Linked DNA regions of Homo sapiens: region 2 is linked to region 1. Evidence: promoter capture Hi-C in human tissues and cell types (Jung and others, 2019). All regions are on one chromosome and are shown on one strand. The core of a region is centred on a gene start or on the middle of the fragment in contact, and the rest is flanking DNA. Distances in the headings are between cores, read along the strand shown.

Evidence for each region. The method cuts DNA at HindIII sites, captures the fragments that hold promoters and counts their contacts. A contact is called where the count stands out against the background at its distance.
Region 2: a contact is called between a fragment that was not itself captured here and the fragment with the promoter of KCNQ4 in region 1, in 1 of the 25 tissues and cell types used here (spleen).

What each region holds. Positions count from the first base shown.
Region 1 is chr1:40,781,509-40,786,523 of GRCh38, forward strand. KCNQ4 (potassium voltage-gated channel subfamily Q member 4) reads left to right here and starts at 2,279. Exons shown (of 14, transcript NM_004700.4): 1 at 2,279-2,899. The coding sequence starts at 2,586. The HindIII fragment of the contact is 5,875 bases long and covers 1-5,015 here.
Region 2 is chr1:40,579,634-40,584,648 of GRCh38, forward strand. No RefSeq gene overlaps it. Among named protein-coding and RNA genes, the nearest start is that of ZNF684, 51 kb to the left of the region's middle. The HindIII fragment of the contact is 6,720 bases long and covers 1-5,015 here.

The DNA of each region.
Region 1 (5,015 bases), core at 1,029-3,528:
TCCTGGGAATCCGGATGGCGCAGGAAGGCCACCCGGTGACCCTAAGAGTGGCCACCTGTCCTCTCTGAACTGGACTTTCTCTTCTGGCCCTTCCACTCTTCCATGTGTACACATATGCCAAGTAAATTTGCTGTGGCCTCCTGGAACCATCTCCCCCATCCCTCTCACCCCTTAGGAAGAGTTCTGTGTCCCTCCATTACCCATACGCCCGCAGGAGAAACAGGCTTCTATGCCCTATGAAAGTCCTTCCTGAGATCTAACTTCCATCCCTCTAGCTGCAACCACAGTCTCTTTCCTCTTTCTGCTGCCTTTGAGCAGGTAATCTGGAGCTGGAGTTGGGAATGATGAGACACTCCCTGCAGTGAGGGCTCCTCACAAGGTGGGGAAGGGACCTTTGTAGTCCCCCAGCTGGGAAGAGAGCCATGGGATCCAGAGGTGATGCTGAGCTTGAAGATTAGATTTCCCAGAACAGACCCAGTTTCAGATATTCTGGGTGTTAAGGGCAACCTGAATTCAAATTCCATTTCTGCTACAGAACAAGAGCCTCAAAAAGACCCCCTAGAAACACCCCCAGGGCGCTTGCAACTGCTTTCCTGTGCACCTTTCATGTCCTAGACCTTAGTCCCATTTCCCAGGATCTATGATTGAGAAGAACCAGCCAGGCAGTTCCACAGAGGGAGGACAGTGCTGCATATTTTGGGGGTGCCATCTTCAGCTCATAGAGAGAAGATGGGTTAACTCAGCCCAGGCACCACATCCCTAGTGGGGCCTTGGGGTCCAGAAACTGTCCCCAGCTTCCAGTAGAGGATCCGGGCATAACCTGCCCTGGGGCACCCGGCTCTGGCCCTGGGCACACCTGGACCAGGAGCAGCAGAAGAGATTCAGGTCAGACCCCAGAGGGCACCCCCAGCTAGGCAGAGGGGAAAGGATCACTATGGGGTAGGGGTGTGGGCCGGTTGCCAAGCCCAGTTTAGGGACCCCACAGATCCCTGCAGCCCACGGCCCTGCCTCCCTCCCTCCCTCACTGGCGCTCAGCAGATCAATGCTGCCTTTGCTGACAGCTGAGAATCGAGCTCGCCTTCCCGCCCCTTCCCCCGCCCCTCCCGCTCGGCTTCGTCCCTCGAGATCCTCCCGGAGGAACCGGGAAGAGTTTGCTGCGGAAGGCTCACCCTGGGGCAGGGCCTGCGGAGGGAGCGGCTGGTGTGGCCGCAGCTTTCCGTGGAGGAAGAGGGAAAGAGGATCGGGAAACCCAAGTTACCAACCCTGTGCAGGGCCCAGGAGGGCTAAAGGAGAGGGACTGCCCCCTACAGCCAGAGAGATGGAGGTCGGGGACTAAGAAAAACTTTCCAGCTGGAGAGGGAATGCCCTGGGACAAAGTATCCCCTTTTCTGGCTGGGATTCTGTGGGCCTTGGGTAGGGGGTGTGTGTCCCCTCTAAGGCTGGCTTAGAGCTCATCTCCCAACACTCCATCTGCCCAAACCCAGTTCCCTGACCTGGGAGTGGGGCAGGGGAGCAGGCCCCTCCATCGGGGAGGATCCTCTTCTGGGCAGGGTGGCTCTTCCCCCATCACGATGAAGGGAAGCTCAGAGGTGGCAGTTGGTGGGAGAAAGACACACCCAGGCCCACTGTGTTCCACACACCCTGATGCTGCCTAGCAGCCCGTGGGCTCCAGGCCTTTCAGGTAAGAGCAGGACAACCGCCGCTGCCCACCCAGCCACACACAGCACTGGGCACACTTTAAGCACCCGCACCAGGCACACAGTGCTCGACCCCAACGGACACACCTCATCCCCTTCGGACTCCACCTCCACTTTCGCAGCCACCCACACCCGACCCATAACTCACACCTCACTGACTCCATCCCCGCACCTGGTAGACCCACAGCCACCCACCCTGCACACACAAGTAGACGCCGTTCCACCGGTCTACACCTAAACTCCACGGGACACTGCGTCCCTTCCCCTGCCGCCCGCGGCCACAACTCCACATTCCACTTTCCACAAGCACACACGAGGCGTCCCACCCCGGGCTGGCCTTCGGGGCCACACTGCCCCACGCAGCGGTGGACACCACTTGCACGCGTCCGGCTTCCCGGCCCCGCGCGCTGCCCCCGCCACGCGGTTCGGCCCAGGCACCAACTCGGCCGCCCGTGCGCCCTGCCCCGCCGCCTGCTCCGCGCGTTCCCTCCCTCCGCCTCGCCTCGCTTGCTCGCTCGCTCCCTCCCGATTTGGGAAGGCGGCCGCGGGGCGGGCGGGGGAGGGGCGGGGCGGGGGAGGGTGACATGTGAGCGGCGCGCGCCGGTGGCAGGTGGAAAGGCGAGCGGCATGGAGCGCGTAATAAGAGAGTTGGAGTCGGAAAGAGCAGCCCCAGTCGCCGGGGAAGCGGGAGGTCAGTGCGGGCTCCGGCGGCCCCCAGGCTCCGAGCGCCCGCCCGCGGCCCCGGCCCGGCCCCTAGCCCCCGCCGCCCGCGCCCGCCCCGGGTCGCCCCTCTGGCCCCGGGTCCGAGCCATGCGTCTCTGAGCGCCCCGAGCGCGCCCCCGCCCCGGACCGTGCCCGGGCCCCGGCGCCCCCAGCCCGGCGCCGCCCATGGCCGAGGCCCCCCCGCGCCGCCTCGGCCTGGGTCCCCCGCCCGGGGACGCCCCCCGCGCGGAGCTAGTGGCGCTCACGGCCGTGCAGAGCGAACAGGGCGAGGCGGGCGGGGGCGGCTCCCCGCGCCGCCTCGGCCTCCTGGGCAGCCCCCTGCCGCCGGGCGCGCCCCTCCCTGGGCCGGGCTCCGGCTCGGGCTCCGCCTGCGGCCAGCGCTCCTCGGCCGCGCACAAGCGCTACCGCCGCCTGCAGAACTGGGTCTACAACGTGCTGGAGCGGCCCCGCGGCTGGGCCTTCGTCTACCACGTCTTCATGTGAGTTTGCGACCCCGCGCCCTTCCGCGTTTCCCCGCGCAAGCCTGGCCTCCCGGGGCACGGCCGCCCCGCCCTGGCTCCGCCTTCTACCCCCCTGCCTCAGGGCCGACCCTCATCTCTCTCCCCCCAGGCCTAAGCCCGGTTTCTGATCCCCTCGCTGAGCCCGACCCTAAGCCCTGATCTCCCAGGCCTGACCCCTGCTTGACCTCGCTTCTGACCTCCCCGCACCGCAACTGCTTATTTCCATCCTGACCGCCAATCTCTGCTCCTCTGTCCCAGGTACTCCCGACCGCCAGCTGCCTCCCCCAAGTCCGCTTGGCGAAGTCTGGGGCCCCTGGAGTGGGCGCCCTTTTCCTCTTCCCCACCCCTGCCTCCCTGTGTCCCAGACACAAAGAGGAACCCTTGGCTCCCACACGCTTCTGTCACCTGCTCCCCAGCTCTGAGCTATGAAGGGCTCCCCTCAGGGGTGCTCCTCTCCAGGGCGGCCCTCATTCCTACCCCTGCCCAGCTGACTGTGGGTGTGTGGGGGTCCCTGTGGGCCCCCTGGGCCCTGACACTCGCATATGCTGTGTCCGACTTGATCTGTGTCTTCGCTCAGTCTTCCCCTCCACCCTCAACTTCCCAGTGGCAACGGCGGCCGCCCTGCCTGCCCTGCCCTACCCTGCCGGCTTGGCCCAGCTCGCCTGCCTTGTTGGCTGGCAGCACCAGGCCTGGCTCTAGGCACCAGGGGAAAAAGAAAGAGGAGAGGGGTAGGTTTGGAAACACTGACGCTGCTGGGGCCCCCTCCTCCCTCTCACCAGGCTCCTACAACTTTCAAAAACACTGACCCCTCTTGGGTGTGAAGAGTGAATTTTGGCAGCTCAGAGCTCAGTCTTGGGGTACGGCCTGGCCCAGCCAGGAACATGAGAGGCCCCGCAGATATCAGTTGAAGGGCTGGGCCTGACGCTGGGACGCTCAGAGGTGCCCAGAGAGAGACCTCTGGTCCCTGGAAAATGTGTGGCTATTAATCCCTTTTTGCTGCCACCAGAGAGGGCCCTTTGGCGCTGGGGTCTCCTGGGTGGCCCACCTGCCTGCCCACCTGACTGTCTAGCAGCCCTCCTGCTGGCCTGGCTGTCCCTCTGCCAGCCTGAGTTTCCACCTGTGTGCGAGTTGGCCAGTCTGCTCACCCTTCCACCTAACTGTCCGCAGTCCTTCTGCTTGCCTGTTTCCATCCATCTGTGGCCTGTGCAGTTATCCGGGTGCCTGTCTGTGCATCTGCCTATCCACCTGTCCACCTGACTGTCCACTCTTCCTCTACCTGTCTTTTCCACCTGTCTCTGGGTCTGTCCTTCGGCCTGTTTCTCGGGTGCTTGCTGGCCTGCCTCTGCCCCATCTGAACTGGGCCCACATAATTTCAGAGGTGAAGGGGAGAAAGATGCGGCACAGGGAGGGGCAGGGGGGGAAGACAGCAGGGCTCTCTCGGCCATTAAGTGCGTTGGGGGTGGCAACCTTGACTCTGTGCAGAGACCTCAGCTGGGCTAGGCTGGGGCAGAGAGTTGAAATTGCTCAGGACATGAGGTCAAGCTTCGGTTCAGGGTCAACGGTTTGTAGTAGCCCAGTCCTTAGTGTCCATTGGGAGGCCTAGGATGAATATTTGTGGCTATAAAGAGGCCCGTTGGAGTGAGGAAGGCCCAGGGCTGGTGGAGTTGGGGGTGAGGGGATGGGGACTACTTCTTAGGAGTGGCTACAGAGCAGCCTCCTTGAGTGCCTAAGGAGGGTGAGACACCCCCCAGAGAACAACTGTGCCCTCCGTGGGCTCCTCTTGGGAAGGGACTTTTCCAAGGCATGGCAGGGCCTGGGGAAGCCAATAGGGCTCTGAGGTGGGGTCCTTACCCCCCCAGGCTTGGCCTTACAGCCCCCACAAGGGTCAGTGGAGGTGAAGGACCTGCCTCCTGTCCCCTGGCCAGCTGCTGTTGGTGCCTCCTTTGAAAGGACCGCCCCTTCCTCTCCAGGAGCTAATCCACTGGCACCTTTGCCCCACATCCTGCCCTTTCCTGATGCCAGGAAATGCCCTCGCCAGGGCCGTGCTTGTCCTGACCACTTGTCCCCGGGAGCCCAGGGCCAGGGCATGTCTTGG
Region 2 (5,015 bases), core at 936-3,435, 200 kb before region 1:
ATATATTTTTTAATCAAATGTTTTATATAGGCTGGGCATGGTAGCTCATGCCTATAATCCCAGCACTTTGAGAAGGCTGAGGTCAGAAGTTTGAGACCAGCCTGGCCAACATGGTGAAACCCCGTCTCTACTAAAAATACAAAAATTAGCCAGGCTTAGTGGCAGCTGCCTGTAATCCCAGCTACTCAGGAGGCTGAGGCTGGAGAATCTCTTGAATCTGGGAGGCAGAGGTTGCAGTGAGCTGCGGCCATGCCACTGCACTCCAGCCTGGGCAACAGAGCAAGACTCTGTCTCAAAAAGAACACAAAAGGGAAATTAGTATTACTAGTGTTTCCTATGTACTGGACATTGTACAAGTACATTTTGTCATCACAGTCACACATCATCTTCATTATAGCCCTATGTCATGGAAAGAGGTTGCTATTCCTGTTTTACTGAAAGAGAAGACTCAATTATAGAGAGATTTCACAGCACGTCCCGTGGCATACTGTAAAAAATTGATGGTGTCAGAATTCAAACATAGGGGCCAGGTGCGGTGGCTCACATGTGTAATCCCAGCACTTTGGGAGGCCAAGGCAGGTGGATCACGTGAGATCAGGAGTTTGAGATCAGCCTGGCCAACATGGTGAAACCCCGTCTCTACCAAAAATACGAAAACTAGCTGGGTGTGGTGGCAGATACGTGTAATCCCAGCTACTTGGGAGGCTGAGGCAAGAGGGTCATTTGAAGCTGGGAGGTGGAGGTTGCAGTGAGCCGAGATCGCGCCACTACGCTCCAGCCTGGGCAACAGAGTGAGACCCTGTCTCAAAAAAAAGACTTTAAACACAAGCCTGTCTTTGTCTTCCTATTCTCAAATACTGAACTCTGTGGGAGAAAAGCAAAAATAACCTTTACTTGCCCTCATTGATTCTTATAGAAGGCTGGAATGAAAACTATGTAGGAAATCTTCAAATAAAAGAATTTAGGCCGGGTGCGGTGGCTCATGCCCGTAATCCCAGCATTTTGGGAGGCTGAGGTGGGTGGATCACGTGAGGTCAGGAGTTCTAGACCAGCCTGGCCGACATGGTGAAACCCCCTCTCTGCTAAAAATACACAAATTAGCCGGGCATGGTGGCAGGCGCCTGTAATCCCAGCTACTCGGGGGGCTGAGGCAGGAGAATCGCTTGAACCCGGGAGGCCATCGCACTCCACCTGGGGGACAAGAGTGAGACTTCATCTCAAAAAAAAAAAAAAAAAAAAGAATTATTCTTTACAGAAAACTTTCTTGCTGCCAAATATAGGAAAAGGTGACAGTCAGATAACTCAGATTCACAACTACATTATGACTCCTGAAGGGGAGGATTCCAGGAACACAGATAAGATCTTTCTCTCATCATACATGGGAAGGGGAACCTGCAGGAGCAAGAATGGTAAGGTTAATCTTTGAGGGGATGATACTAAAAAAATACAGAAAATCAAGAGGATACAGCTTGAGAAACGGAGAAATCTGCCCAGCCAGGGCCTTATATAAAATTCTATGATTCCTTGTTAGTATGGTGGTGAGTTTTTAAAAAAGTCCTATGTGAGTGAAGGCCGAAATACATTCTTCAGGCAGCAAAGGTTACTTTGGGATCCAGAACAATATTGAAAGAAGAGTAAAATGTGGGAGTGAGAGACCTTCTCCCAGAAAATATTGCTTAGAGAAGCTCCAAAGTCAACTGTTGCCTGGCTTTATAGAGCAACACTCTCCATTACCTAATGCAGGGGTTCCCAGTCCCCCAGCCACAGGTACCAGTCTGTGGCCTGTTAGGAACCTAGACACACAGCAAAAGGTGAGCGGTGGGTGGCAAGCATTACCACCTGAGCTCCGTCCGCCTTCTGTCAGATCAGCGGCAGCATTAGATTCTCATAGCAGCGCAAACCCTATTGTGAACTGTGCACGCAAGGGATCTAGGCTGTGTGCTCCTTATGAGAATCTAACTAATGCCTGATGATCTGAAGTGGAACAGTTTCATTCCGAAATCCTTCCCCCTCCTCGCCCCTGTCCATGGAAAAATTGTCTTCTATGAAACTGGTCCCTGGTACTCAAAAGGTTGGGGAACGCTGAGCTAATAGCTCAGAAACCTAATCCAACTCTGTACTTAGGGTTACGAATATTTATAACCAGAAATCACAATTTGTCACAAACGGGAACCAAAGAAACATAGAACAGAAGTCCTAATTTTGTAATAACTATGGATTTTTATTTTTATTTTTTTTTGAGATGGAGTCTCGCTCTGTCACCAGGCTGGAGTTCAGTGGCGTGATCTCGGCTCACTGCAACCTCCGCCTCCTGGGTTCAAGCAATTCTCCTGCCTCAGCCTTCCGAGTAGCTGGGACTACCGGCATGTGCCACTATGCCCAGCTAATTTTTGTATTTTTAGTATAGACAGGGTTTCACTATGTTGGTTGGACAGGATGGTCTCGATCTTCTTGATCTCATGATCTGCCCACCTCAGCCTCCCAAAGTGCTGGGATTACAGGCATAAGCCACCGCACCCAGCCAGAAAATTTTTTTGTAATCACTCAAATGTGCAAGGATATACCATAACTCACAGAGAAATTATATATAGATGAATGACTCAGATATAGCTGAACCCCTTACCAACTATCACCAAATTCAGACATTCCACAAGGAGAGAAACCCTGCCAATGTTTGTGGTAGGCCTTCAGCTAAGGTATTTCCTTTGAGATCATGAGACAATCGGACAGAAGAGAACCTTGTATATGTGAAGAATGTGTTAAAAGCTTTGGCCCAATTCCTCTTGGAGTGCACACAATAGAGGGGGCTTATAAATATGATGCATGAATTGTGGGTATCAGCTGGTACAAAAATTTTTCCAATTATGAAAGCACCTGTGCAGGAGGAAAACCTTTGAAGTGAAGGGAATGTGGTCAGGGTTATTGTACAGTTGGAGATCCACATGGGACTCAGGAACCGTATGGGAGAGCAACCCTACCTGTGTGATGAACGTAGTGAGAGCTTCACCAGGTGCTCCTCTCTTCTCCTTTGTAGTACCCTCCCTCCATTCAGGAGAGAAAGCACATCATTATCATTTCTAAGAGCGGTGAGAATTTTTCTCAGAGTGCAAAACTTGGCACTGATGAGCAAGTGCATAGGGGAGAGAGACCCCATAAATGTGATGAGTTCAGTACGGGCTTCTCTCAAGCCTCAGAAGTTCACATTCACCAGAGAATCCACACTAAAGAAAATTGCTATTAATGAGTGTAATACAAACTTCAGTCAGAAGGGAAATGTTCACCTTTAGTAGAATCTAGGCAGAAGAGAATCAATGTGATAATAAGGACTGTCAAAACATTCAAATACATTCAAGTTATAAAGCTGCAGAATAGATGCCTACTATAAATGTGACAATTAAACTTGGGGTTGGGGTGAGGAAGTTTACCCAGTATCTTAAAACTCAACAAAATTATACATAGGAAATAAACAATACCAATAGCCTAAATTAAATCTAAATGAAAATATTACTTGCCAAGTGTTTCAATGTTACAAAATGTTTTAAGGGGTTACCATAAGGTTCTGTTTGTAAGGAAGCAAGGAAGAGAGTTGAAGAGACTGATCTCTTGGCCGGGCAGGGCTGTAATTCCAGCACTTTGGGAGGCCGAGGTGGGCGGATCACCTGAGGTCAGTTCAAGACCAGCCTGGCCAACATGGTGAAACCCTGTCTCTACTAAAAATACAAAAAATTACCCGGGCATGGTGGCAGGTGCCCATAATCCCAGCTACTCGGAGGCCCAGGCAGGAGAATTGCTTGAACCCGGGAGGCTGCAGTGAGCCGAGATTGTGTCATTGCACTCTAGCCTGGGTGACAGAGTGAGACTCCATCTCAAAAAAAAAAAAAAAAAAAAAAAAAAAAAGACTGATCTCTTATAAAACATTCTGGAGCCATAATGAGACCAAACAGAAACAAAATCAAAACCTCAGGGAGAGTTGGTTTCATAACATGACTCACCCAGTGGTAGGAGATTTTGCCAAGAATGCAAGTGACCATGGAGATAAGGCCACAGTGCTATTTTTCCTGGGTAATGATGTTCTATGCAATTGTGTGAAATCTTGTCTTATTTGAGATGTGTGAAACTTTCCACTTTAGCATCTTTTACAAGGGTATATTCATCTCTCAAATTGTGGTTTACAGACCACCTGTATCAGAAGTACTCAAAGTGTGTACTAAAGTGTAAATAGTACTACTTTAGTATTTTATACACAAAAACTTTAGTGTACGTAATTATCTGGGGGTACTTGAAAATACAGATTCCTGAGCCTCATCCCATATCTACTTAATCACTCAGTGGGTACAGAGACCAAGGGTTTGCATTTATAAAAGCTCCTCCCCCAGAGCTGGGCGCAGTGGCTCATACTTATAATCTCAGCAACTTGGGAGGCTGAGGCAGGAGGATTGCTTAAGACCAGGAGTTTGAGACAAGCCTGAGCAACAGAGTGAGACCCCTGTATTAGTCCGTTCTCATGCTGCTATAAAGAACTGCCTGAGACTGGGTAATTTATAAATGAAAGAGGTTTAATTGACTCACAGTTTCGCATTGCTGGGTAGTCCTCAGGAAACTTACAACCATGGTGAAAGGCAAAGGAGAAGCAAACACCTTCTTCACAGGGTGGCAGAACGGAGTGAATGCAAACAGGGGAAATGCCAGACACTTATAAAACCACCATATCTCGTGAGACTCACTCACTATCACGAGAATAGCATGAGGGAAACCGCCCCCATGATCCAATTACCTCCATCTGGTCCTGCCCTTGACACATGGAGATTATGGGGATTACAATTCAAGGTGAGATTTGGGTGGGGACACAGGGCCAAGCCATATCAACCCCTGTCCAAAAAAAAAAAAAAAAGTTTTTAAGCTCTTTTTCCCATTGCAGGTGATTTTTATGCATGCAAAAGCTGGAGAATTATTCTATGAGATGTTTGGATGAGGTCAAGAAAAACAAAATCTTAAGTGGCACTTTTGCTAGTGTC